Regions from separate parts of the Homo sapiens genome. Here region 2 is linked to region 1. Evidence: promoter capture Hi-C in human tissues and cell types (Jung and others, 2019). All regions are on one chromosome and are shown on one strand. Each heading gives the region's core, a stretch centred on a gene start or on the middle of the fragment in contact. The rest is flanking DNA. Distances are from core to core; before and after follow the strand shown. Region 1 holds the start of CSH1 (chorionic somatomammotropin hormone 1). Region 2 overlaps ERN1 (endoplasmic reticulum to nucleus signaling 1).

Region 1 (6,138 bases), core at 1,758-4,257:
AGTCACCATAATTCTGCGGTCAACAGAAATGGAGAGGTGAGAGGAGACACTCCCCTGCCCTGGCAGGTCCCACATGTTCCTGGCAGTAACCTGCATGGGGAGCCTCGCCACCCGTGTGCCCACCTGCGGAGTTATGTAGTGGTCCCCAACTAGGGCCCCTGCCACCCTCTTTCCTAAGGGAGGCTGCAGACTTCTTCCATGGCCAAAAATCCACATCTAAGTCCCCAGCACTGGCTAAAAGACCCTGTCATGGGGGCTCCCTGTCCCAGCTGACATTGGAGGAAGGATGGTGGGGGAGGCAGGGACCCTCTTCTACTTGGAGCTCAGGGACCCTCTTCCATTCCCACCTGGCTCCTCCTCTTTGCTGGTGCTGGAAGGAGCAGGGGAAAGTGGTGACTCCACCCTCCCTTGACCCCATATTTCTCAGAGCTGGTATCATCGATGACACCCCTCTTGGATCCTCCTACAGGCCTGCCTGGAGAACAGCTCACAGCACAGTGCCCTCCCAGCAGATGATGAGTCTGGGGTGCTAGTCCAGTAATGCTTCAGGAATGACGGCAGAAAAAGGAGCTCTGTTTTCTGCTCTGAAAGTGGGGAGATGGCAGGGCCCCAGCATTCACATCCTAGGCCACAGGGGTGTGGGTGTTCAATGTTGGTTGCCAACACCACTGCCAACCACTTCTGGAAGCGTTTGCCTGTTTGTTTGCTTGTGTTTCTACAGAGTCAAGTGCTAGATGCTCTTAAACTCGGGGGGAAGATTTCACCACTAGAGAGGGTGCTCTTTCCTGCTGCCATCTCTGGGGGCATCTGATGCTTGTGACCTCCAGATTATATTGAAATAGCCCCAACTCTGGGCACCAGGAGACAGGAGGCTCAGTCCTGGCCTTCTCTGCCTTCACCTTTTCCTGCTGTGAGGTTTCCACAAGGCACCCCATGCCACTGGGCCATTCTCACCTGAGAATTGAGAAAGAACAATCTGCCCCTTATGGAAAGACAAAATCAGGCAAAGGGCCCCTTGTGTTGGGGGCAGGATCCCTGCACTCAGAGGGATATAGAAGCTGAAATAACTGGGTTGGGAGCGGTGGCTCATGCCAGTAATCTCAGTACTTTGGGAGGCCAGGGAGGGTGGATCACCTAAAGTCAAGAGCTCGAGACCAGCCTGGCCAACATAGTGAAACCCCGTCTCTATTTAAAAAGTACAAAACTTAGCCCGGCATAGTGGCGGGCGCCTGTAATCCCAGCTACTAGGGAGGCTGAGGCGGGAGAATCACTGGAACCCAGGAGGTGGAGGTTGCTGTGAGGCAACATCATGCCACTGCACTCCAGCCTCAGAGACAGAATGAGACTCCATCAAAAACAAGAAAGAAAGAAAGACAAAGAGAGAAAGAAAGAAAGAAAGAAAGAAAGAGAGAGAGAGAGAGAGAGAGAGAGAGAGAAAGAAAGAAAGAAAGAAAGAAAGAAAGAAAGAAAGAAAGAAAGAAAGAAAGAAAGAAGGAAAGAAAGAAAGGAAACTAAAATAACTAAATAACTGAGTAGCACCACACCACCTGCTCTGGAGAAAGGACTTTTGTTGTTGTTGTTGTTGTTGTTGTCGTTGTTGTGGTTGTTGAAATGGAGTCTCACTCTGGCGCCCAGGCTGGAGTGCCATGGCCCAATCTTGGCTCACGGCAACCTCTGAGTCCTGGGTTCAAGCGATTCTACCTCCTCACCCTCCGGAGTAACTGGGATTGCAGGCTTCTGCCACCACACACAGCTACTTTTGTATTTTTAAGAGATGGAGTTTTGCCATGTTGGCTAGTCTGGCCTTGAACTCCTGACCTCAAGTGATCCACCCACCTCAGTCTTCCAAAGTGCTGGGATTACAGGCATGAGCCACCATGCCCGGCCTGGAGAAAGGACTTTAAATGACGCAATGTGGGAAGAGCCAGGTTGTGGAGATCTGCTGCCCTGGCTGAGGTAGCTCATGCAATCAGTCTCTCTGAGCCTCAGTCTCCTGATCTGTGAAATGGGATGATACTCATACCTCCTACACAAGACAAGTTGCAGGTCAGACGTGAGAATGCACAGGCAGGCCTTTGACAACTGGATAAGCTCTACACAGGTCTGGAAAGGAGGAAGAGACAAAAGAGGACGGGCTTCCATGGCTGGATAGGGCCTCTTTCGGCGTGATGTGTTCTGAGTTTTAAAGCTGGGGAAGAGACTCAAATCTTCAAGAGCTCTTCCAACTTTGAGATTCTCTGTTGGTTTCAGGACTATGGGAGGAAGCGCTTGTGGTCCGTGTCTGTTCCCGGGATTTCTGTTTCTTGGTTTGTATCTCTGCTTCAGGTCCAAGGAGCTGGGGCAATACCTTGAGTCTGGGTTATTCATCCCCAGGGACCTGGGGGAGCCCCACCGCCTCCGCCCCAAGGTTCAGGGAAAGGGGAGAGCAATGTGTGGGGTTGGTTCTCTCTAGTGGTCAGTGTTAGCACTGCATCCAGCTGACTCAGGTGGGCCCAGGAGTCATCAGCAAAAGTGGAATTCAGGACTCAATGGTGCTCAGAACCCCCACAATCTATTGGCTGTGCTTGGCCCCTTTTCCCAACACACACATTCTGTCTGGTGGGTGGAAGTTAAACACGCGGGGAGGAGGAAAGGAATAGGATAGAGAGTGGAATGGGGTCGGTAGGGGTCTCAAGGACTGGCTATCCTGACAGCCTTCCCCGCGTTCAGGTTGACCAACATGGCCTGCAGCCAGAGGGCACCCACCTGACCCTTAAAGAGAGGACAAGTTGGGTGGAGTCTGTGGCTGACACTCTGTGCACAATCCTTACAACACTGGTGATGGTGAGAAGGGAAAGACGACAAGCCAGGGGGCATGATCCCAGCATGTGTGGGAGGAGCTTCTAAATTATCCACTAGCACAAGCCCGTCAGTGGCCCCATGCATAAATGTACACAGAAACAGGTGGGGTCAAGCAGGGAGAGAGAACTGGCCAGGGTATAAAAAGGGCCCACAAGAGACCGGCTCTAGGATCCCAAGGCCCAACTCCCCGAACCACTCAGGGTCCTGTGGACAGCTCACCTAGTGGCAATGGCTCCAGGTAAGCGCCCCTAAAATCCCTTTGGGCACAACGTGTCCTGAGGGGAGAGGCAGCGCCCTGTAGATGGGACGGGGGCACTAACCCTCAGGTTTGGGGCTTATGAATGTGAGTATCGCCATCTAAGGCCAGATATTTGGCCAATCTCTGAATGTTCCTGGTCTCTGGAGGGATGGAGAGAGAGAAAAAAAACAAACAGCTCCTGGAGCAGGGAGAGCGCTGGCCTCTTCCTCTCCGGCTCCCTCCATTGCCCTCCGGTTTCTCCCCAGGCTCCCGGACGTCCCTGCTCCTGGCTTTTGCCCTGCTCTGCCTGCCCTGGCTTCAAGAGGCTGGTGCCGTCCAAACCGTTCCCTTATCCAGGCTTTTTGACCACGCTATGCTCCAAGCCCATCGCGCGCACCAGCTGGCCATTGACACCTACCAGGAGTTTGTAAGTTCTTGGGGAATGGGTGCGGGTCAGGGGTGGCAAGAAGGGGTGACTTTCCCCCACTGGGGAAGTAATGGGAGGAGACTAAGGAGCTCAGGGTTGTTTTCTGAAGCGAAAATGCAGGCAGATGAGCATAGGCTGAGCCAGGTTCCCAGAAAAGCAACAATGGGAGCTGGTCTCCAGCATAGAAACCAGCAGTCCTTCTTGGTGGGGGGTCCTTCTCCTAGGAAGAAACCTATATCCCAAAGGACCAGAAGTATTCATTCCTGCATGACTCCCAGACCTCCTTCTGCTTCTCAGACTCTATTCCGACACCCTCCAACATGGAGGAAACGCAACAGAAATCCGTGAGTGGATGCCGTCTCCCCTAGGCGGGGATGGGGGAGACCTGTGGTCAGGGCTCCCGGGCAGCACAGCCACTGCCGGTCCTTCCCCTGCAGAATCTAGAGCTGCTCCGCATCTCCCTGCTGCTCATCGAGTCGTGGCTGGAGCCCGTGCGGTTCCTCAGGAGTATGTTCGCCAACAACCTGGTGTATGACACCTCGGACAGCGATGACTATCACCTCCTAAAGGACCTAGAGGAAGGCATCCAAACGCTGATGGGGGTGAGGGTGGCGCCAGGGGTCACCAATCCTGGAACCCCACTGGCTTCGAGGGCTGGGGGAGAGAAATACTGCTGCCCTCTTTTTAGCAGTAAGGCGCTGACCCAAGAGAACTCACCTTATTCTTCATTTCGCCTGGTGAATCCTCCAGGCCTTTCTCTACACCCTGAAGGGGAGGGAGGAAAATGGATAAATGAGAGAGGGAGGGAACAGTGCCCAAGCGCTTGGCCTCTCCTTCTCTTCCTTCACTTTGCAGAGGCTGGAAGACGGCAGCCGCCGGACTGGGCAGATCCTCAAGCAGACCTACAGCAAGTTTGACACAAACTCGCACAACCATGACGCACTGCTCAAGAACTACGGGCTGCTCTACTGCTTCAGGAAGGACATGGACAAGGTCGAGACATTCCTGCGCATGGTGCAGTGCCGCTCTGTGGAGGGCAGCTGTGGCTTCTAGGTGCCCGAGTAGCATCCTGTGACCCCTCCCCAGTGCCTCTCCTGGCCCTGAAGGTGCCACTCCAGTGCCCACCAGCCTTGTCCTAATAAAATTAAGTTGTATCATTTCATCTGACTAGGTGTCATTCTATAATATTATGGGGTGGAAGGTGGTGGTATGGAGCAAGGGGTAGGTGGAAAGAAGACCTGGAGGGCCTTCAAGGTCTATTGGGAACTAGGCCACTGAAATATAAGAGGTTTGGCTGTTCCTGGGCCAGAAAAAAGCTGACACATCACTGCTGTCTATTACTCACTAAGGCCATTCCACCAGCTCAGTGGTCCCAGCTTGCTGGTCACAGCCCATTGGTCATCTCAGAGATGACTTGAAGGCATTTCTTCCTCCCCCACCATCACCAGCAACACCAAACCTAGCCCCCCAGGAGCGGAAAGAAATGAAAACAAGATGGGCTATTAAGTGCAGAGGCAAAAACTCCCCAACAGGTGAGGAAACAATGGCATAGAATTACTTGTGTTCGGAAGAATTTTAAGATGAGTATTCCTTAAGCCCAACTACTCTCGGGAAATGAGAACAATGCAAAAATGAGTTTGAGACATACAGAACCAGAGCATTTGGAATCTGAATTAGGGCAAGGGAAGTGGAAGAGAGATTTTATTTGGGGTTGTAAATGCAGTGCCAACAGGTTCCAGGTAGATAACAATGTAAGCAATGAGGGCTGGATGGGAGGGGATAAATCCCAGATGACACTCACTTCCCTTCGGGGGATGCAACACAGAGGGGTGGGAACCAGCACAATCTGCAGAACTCAGGCCCCTGCTGAGGTGGGACCCACCCAGCCTGTCACCATCAGGACTGCAGGGACACGGCTTCCAGACCTTCTGACCTTTTGAGACAGCCAGGACATCCAGACTTTTACAGGAATTCTAACATTTAAACACTGGCAACACATATTGAAAATCTTTTAAGGGCAAAAATTAACCGAAACACACATGGTCTCCAAGCTGTCTGTGAGCAATTTTGTTCTAAGAGATGTTGATTGGGGTAACTTGGTGTAAGGGAAAGAATCAGAAAGATTTGGGCTGTATGTAATTTAGTGCCCCCGAATAAATTACTTGACCAAGCTGAGATAATAATATATTGCTTTACAAGGATTATGTGAGGACTAAATGCAATGGTATTTTTGATATATTATAGTACTCAAGAAATTCTAGCTATTTCTGCATTGAATTTTTGGATGTTTTGTGTTTTCTGATGGAGTGTCTAAATACCTGTAGTGAAATTATATTGTTTTCCTAATGACAATTAGGAAATAATAAACATCTCAGATGTTTATTATTTCCAAATAAGCACTAAAGAGCGGTGGTTAGTTAAGAGTTTGCTCTCCCAAGCACCTTGGCTAAGTGACTGGTGACCTATAAATCGATGCTAAGATGCTCACAGGAACTCTAGTATCCAAAAATGATTTCATAAAGTCAGGAATTGTTTTGCAATGCAAATAATCAACCCCCCAATTAATCTTCTTTAGAAGTTCGATTCTTAAATGCTATAATGAATTTTCTTGATAATGAGACCCACTTGTATT
Region 2 (6,138 bases), core at 1-2,500, 150 kb before region 1:
AAACTGGAAGATAATCATGGCTGATGTTTTAATGTTTTCTTCATATATAAAAGTATAATTGGGATCTAACCGTATATACAGTTTCAGAATCCCTTTTTTTAACTGTACATGATATTTTAAGTTTCTTTCATGTTAAAGTTCTAAAATTCCAATGACCATAGTATTCTATCATATGGATGTGCCATAATGGTTAAGCTTTATATTATGGAATTTCCAAATATATAATACATAAATGTTTAAATGCTATAATGAGCACTCCTTTATTCATCCCTCAGGTTCAATAAATATTAACCTTCACCCTCTCCCCACCCCAGGTTATTTCGAAGTAAATCTCAGGCATCATATAATTTCATTCAAGTGTCATAAGCTTATTTATTTATTTTTATTTTTTTTGAGACAGCGTTTCACTCCGTTACCCAGGCTGGAGTACAGTGGTGCAATCTTGGCTCACTGCAACCTCTGCCTCCCGGGTTCAAGTGATTCTCCTGCCTCAGCTTCCTGAGTAGCTGGGATTACAGATATGCACCACCACGCCTGCCTAAGTTTTTTTGTATTTTTAGTAGAGATGGGGTTTCACCATGTTGGCCAGGCTGGTCTTGAACTCCGGACCTCAGGTGATCTGCCCGCCTCAGCCTCCCAAAGTGCTGGGATTACAGGCATGAGCCACCAGGCCCAGCCCAAGTGTCATAAATTTCAGTGCTTTCTTATATTGTATTTGTTTCTATCATCTTTTACACAGTCTTGGCCCAGATCTCCTTTTGCTTAAAATAGGTTCTGCAAAGTTAGAACTCCTTTGGTGATTTGACTGTTTTAAAGCTTTGTGACAATGTCAGGTGACTTTTGAAGAGGTAATGTGTTTTTCAAAGTCTTCCATGTATGAATTGAACATAACTCACCCGAACGCCTCCTGCCCAGCACGTGGCTCTGAAAGCAGGCTTGTGGGGCAGTGCTTTTCCCCTTGGGTCCAGGCAGAGTGCAGCTTGGTGGGCACCGTACTGAGAAGTGACCATCATGCTCTCCTGGGGTCTGACTGGGGCCTTGGCCAGAGGGAAGCCCCCAGAATGTAAGCTCCTCGAGGACAGGAGTGCTTGACTGCTGCATTCACTACTGTGTCCCTGCCTCCTAGGGAGGACGCTGCCTGGCCCAACCATTCAGATGGATCGGGTTGGGAAGAGTTTAATGCTGTCTTCCATGTTGTAGCATATGGATTGGTCACTGTGTCCATGGACATAATGTGAAAATTCTCAAGTCCATATGTCTTCCAGGGACTTGTGAAAACTAACCAGGTCATTTTGATCGCAAAATATAGAACAGGAATAAAACCCACACAAAGGGACCTTCACCCACCAAGGGACAGGATTTAAATGCTTAGTATCTCCAGGTCATATGTCTCTCGAACACACCTGGCTTCCACTCAGGTCATTTAGCCGTAACAGCTTTGCAGCTCAGACACGTGTGTTCCCAGTGTACCCAAGTTGACAATCTAACCTCTCCACAGCTTCTCTCTGACAATTGTAAATTAGGAGTTCAGCCAGTCTGGCTTCATCTTCATCATAGAAAAGGCTGCTCTGAGAAAAGGGTCTCCTAAGGCTACTTAACATTGATGTAGACAGGGCTCACCACTCCCTGTGTCCTCAGCTGTCGACCTGTCTTACTGGTGGGACTTCAAGAGGCCATACTTGGGTGCTTCCTGACCCTCTCCTTATTACCAAAGTCAAATGCAGAGCAAGGTTTGAATCCCAACAGGAGCCTCTGGAGCCCATACTCTTGCCACCAAGTTTCCTCTTTGAGAAGAAGGCCCAGCTTCACAGGTCTTTTCTACTGGTGGAGGGAAGAGTGGCGACCCTCCACCAGTTATGGGCTTGAGCATACCCTGTTTCAGTGAGTAGACAAAGCACGGGATGCACATCAAATCTGAGCTTTCCTTTTCTTTTTGGTTTTGGTTCATTGGATATAGATTGCACTTGCGGCTCCGTACACATGGCGTGTGTGTGCACATGTGAAATTCAGGGTATGCGTTCGTGGTCTATATGCAGGTGTACTCTGTGACACCTCTCTGACATGGGAGAAGCTCTCTGTGGGCCTGTGCTTCGTGAGGAACAGAGCAGCTCACAGGGAAAGTCATGGATGAGGGAGGGAGGGGGCAGGGTGCCTGCTGCCCAGCTCTGGGGCAGGCTTATGTGTCAGTGATGATCTGTTACTGAGTCCCAGTCGCACAGCTCTCAGCATCTCCAGCACTGACCATCATCTGCTGCCCTTGTTTCTCTCACAGGACGTGAGCGACAGAATAGAAAAGGAATCCCTGGATGGCCCGATCGTGAAGCAGTTAGAGAGAGGCGGGAGAGCCGTGGTGAAGATGGACTGGCGGGAGAACATCACTGTCCCCCTCCAGACAGGTGATCATGCTGCAGCGTGTGAGAGGGCAGGTTGCAAAAGTCGCTGCCGCCTTTCCAAAAAGTAAACGTGGAAATGGCCGCTCCAGGCTGTTCAGGCCCCACATCCCACCTGTCAGGTTTGAGACTTTCTTGGGTGTGTCCTCTGTGGTTTGGTTACACTGATGTGTGTTTCATTTTTGTTCCCTAGAGTGACAGGTGAGTGATGGTGTCGTGCTCTAGGTGGTCATTTCTGACCTGGGTGTGATCACCAGGTGGGGTTCAGGGGGATACCACCCTTGGGTTGGATGGGAGGATCTGCTCCCATGCCTAGGTGTGGAGTGACCTCACCTTTCAGTCCAACTCCCTAATCCCAGGACCCCATGAATTGTTTTCTTTTAAAATGTATTAGTTTTAAATTTGATTACCCATTGCTTCCCTCAATGTTTTTCTAGACCTGCGTAAATTCAGGACCTATAAAGGTGGTTCTGTCAGAGATCTCCTCCGAGCCATGAGAAATAAGGTAAGCAGTTTGTAAATGCTGGGGAGGAGACCCAGTGGCCATGACATGGACACCTTCCTCCTTTCATCCATTCTTTATAAATCTTTTATCTGTACTGGCATTCTCATCTCTCAGGAGCTAGGCGGCTTCAGCTGGACTTGGCAAACTGCAGGCTGTTGCCTCTCTTACGCTGATTTTCCCTTCAGGGACGTAGGTGCAGGTGAAGCTCCGGGAAGCAGTGCTCTGCGGCCCATGTCCCTCATGGTCTCTGGTCGCTGACTTTTGTGGGGCCCTCTCCCTGTCTGATGCAGCCACTGTGTGTAAACATGTATAAACATACCTCAAATGCGGGGACCCCACTGGGACGGACACTCCAATCTCAGGCGACTTTACTCCTCCTGAGGTGGCCAGGAGTGTCTCCAGGTCCTGACTGTCACAGAAGGCCTGAGCACCCCCTGGACTGGCTGGGCCTTGCTCACTTCAAGGCCTCCTCCTGAGTGAGGGTAGCAGGCGAGATGACGGGGCTGGATTCTTGGATACATAAGCCTTTTTTCTTTTTCTTTACCAAAAACCAACACTCACATTCTGTCTCTTCCTTGCATGATGAAAGGGTGTTTTGCCAACATTTCCCGAGCTTTCTAACCCCTTTCTAATCTCCCGAGCTTTCTAACTCTTTGCAGAAGCACCACTACCGGGAGCTGCCTGCAGAGGTGCGGGAGACGCTGGGGTCCCTCCCCGACGACTTCGTGTGCTACTTCACATCTCGCTTCCCCCACCTCCTCGCACACACCTACCGGGCCATGGAGCTGTGCAGCCACGAGAGACTCTTCCAGCCCTACTACTTCCACGAGCCCCCAGAGCCCCAGCCCCCAGTGACTCCAGACGCCCTCTGAGCGAGGGCGGCCCCTCTGTTCTGGTGGCCCCAGCTGTGACTGAGGGCCTGGTCACCACAATTAGAGCTTGATGCCTCCCGGCTTTGCAGGGAGACCAGGCTTCCCAAACCAAGTGCCTTGAGCTGCCTGCTCTGCAGCCCACAGAGGACAGTGCTGACCCCAGGAAGTGGGAGAAGTGGCCCCTCGTGACCTACAGGGAACTGGGAAGATGCTGGCCCCAAAAGCCTTACGGTCATGATGTCTGCAAAGGAGGGCCTCAGAGACAGCGCGAGTAGCACCCCCAGCCATCTACTGGATAAACTTGCTTCAGACTTTTTAAATTCCTGCTTAATGTCAGTCTACAGGCCTTTCAGGAAGGGAGAGGAGGGAATCGTACATTTTGCTTGCGTGCTGGGACAGCTAGGCTGAGATGCACCAAGTACAGCCTTCACTGGAGACCGGAATTGAGAGGTGGGGGATGCTGAGGAGGGGGAGGACGGAGTTCAGAGGGTGTCGTCCTGCAGTGTGAGATTTCTCATTGATCACAGATGTGCCCAGAGTAGCCCAGGTCACTGTTAACTAGTGTTTCTGCAGAGGCAGCAGGAGCCATGAGCATGAGGTGTGGCATTAGGGACTGGTCAGCTATGCATGCTGGCAGGTGGGGTTGTGTCTGCAGGTCTCAGAAATGAAGAGGCTGCTCTGTTCTGGAGGCAGCCGTGGCCCAGTGCCAGTGGCCAGAACAGTGGCCTTTGGTGGGTGTGTCCCGGGCCATCTCGGGGTGGTGCTCAGGAGCGCCTGGGGCAAGAGGTAAAGAGTTCCCTGGCCTTCAAGGAGAGCAGCGAAGACCCAGACAGGGGCCAGCCTTCAGGACCAGAGGGAGGCCGCCGAATGGGACCCTCCTGGTCACCAGGAGAAAGCCCTGGGCCAGCGAGTAGGCAGTCAAACTCCTTCGTCCCCAAGGCCGGTGGAACAAGAGGCTCGTGGTGAGTCAGGGCCAGGGTGGGTGGCCAAGGCCAGGGTCACCGTGTGCTTCATGGGCCAGCTTTTTTGTTTTTCTTGGCAAATTTTAATAACTATATTTTGATTATACTGTAGAATGCTATGTCAGCATAAGTAAGCTAAACTTGAAGCTTTCTTGTGAAGAATAAATGCAAGATAGAATACATCTTCTATTTTTTGTGGTACCAAAAATCACCATCCCCTCAAGAGTGTTCATGTATAGAACATTCTCTAATGCTGAAGAGTAAAACATTATAGCAACACTATGTAAATGTATTGAACAGTATCAAAGAAATAGTCTCTAAATTGTTTGTACCATATTTTTTTTTCTAAACTTAACATAATTTTTAGCTTTAGTTTCAGTCAAAACTTTGTCTTTTCTCTCCCGAGAGCCTTAGAGGTTAAAATGCAATCAGCCTACCGTGTAAGGAGATGTTGTCCATGTACTTTCTCCAGCCAGTTGGGGGATCATTGCAGCTCAGGCCTGGTGAACTCAGAGATTCCATTCAGTATTAAGAATGGGATTGTTGAATTTTACTCACAGAGAAATCACTGTTTCTTCATGTTGTAAGATGTTTTCTGTTTGTGTATTTGTATCATGGTTACTCATCAAAAGCTCTCATTCTGCCTTTGTAGAATTCAGTTCCCTTCCTTTCATCATAGCTAAAGTGACTTTTTTCCCTACTATTAACGTGATCCTACATCCTTAAATCTCATCGATTACCTCACTTAGGCCTTGGAACCTTGGCCCTTGGTCGGTGTCCTTGGCGTCTTCTAAGCAAGGCTGTGCGTTGTTCAGAAACGTGGCCAGACCGCATTTCCTGCTGCTCCCATGCCGCATGCCAGGTGGCCTGAGACAGAGCTCCCCATACGGCTGCAAGGTGCTTTACCTGTGGGCTTTGGCAGTAACCCAAGAGAGGATCAGAAGGTGGAGAAGGTGCCACGAGTGATTTAACAGGCCTGCCACAGGGAGTGCCCCCAGCCCAGCTCGTTCTCAGCACAGGTTTTCTCTTTGGGAGTACCCAGGTGATTTCTAGTGACCCAATTTTGTGTCATCTCCCTGTTTTAGCCCCACTTGCCTAGAGACAACTGTTTCCGATGCCTTTTCTGCTTATCATACTAGTTTCTAACCACGCAGATTTCTCAAAATCATTTATTCAATGTATTTTATTTGAGCACTTAGTGTATTGAGCTAGGCAGGATATAGGGTGCCGGAGATACAGCGATGAACAAGACAGGCAAAACTTCTGCTTTCCTAAAACTTGTGATGAGAGAGAACAATAAAAAAGTGTTGCTGCCACAAAGAAACCAAAGTGTGTGGGGAAGGGCGCGTGTTTGCGGTTTACATCTCTTCTGTCCCAGAATCACAGGGATCTGGTCCGGTCACCTCTGG

Evidence for each region. Contacts are between HindIII fragments. The study calls those that stand out against the background at their distance.
Region 2: a contact is called between a fragment that was not itself captured here and the fragment with the promoter of CSH1 in region 1, in 1 of the 25 tissues and cell types used here (spleen).

Annotation. Positions count from the first base shown.
Region 1 is chr17:63,893,443-63,899,580 of GRCh38, reverse strand. CSH1 (chorionic somatomammotropin hormone 1) reads left to right here and starts at 3,007. Exons shown (of 5, transcript NM_001317.6): 1 at 3,007-3,079; 2 at 3,346-3,506; 3 at 3,731-3,850; 4 at 3,944-4,108; 5 at 4,362-4,663. The coding sequence starts at 3,070. The coding sequence ends at 4,559. The HindIII fragment of the contact is 19,326 bases long and covers 1-4,467 here.
Region 2 is chr17:64,041,617-64,047,754 of GRCh38, reverse strand. ERN1 (endoplasmic reticulum to nucleus signaling 1) reads left to right here. Exons shown (of 22, transcript NM_001433.5): 20 at 2,273-2,396; 21 at 2,828-2,895; 22 at 3,555-6,138. The coding sequence ends at 3,767. Among named protein-coding and RNA genes, the nearest start is that of ICAM2, 24 kb to the right of the region's middle. The HindIII fragment of the contact is 3,192 bases long and covers 1-2,846 here.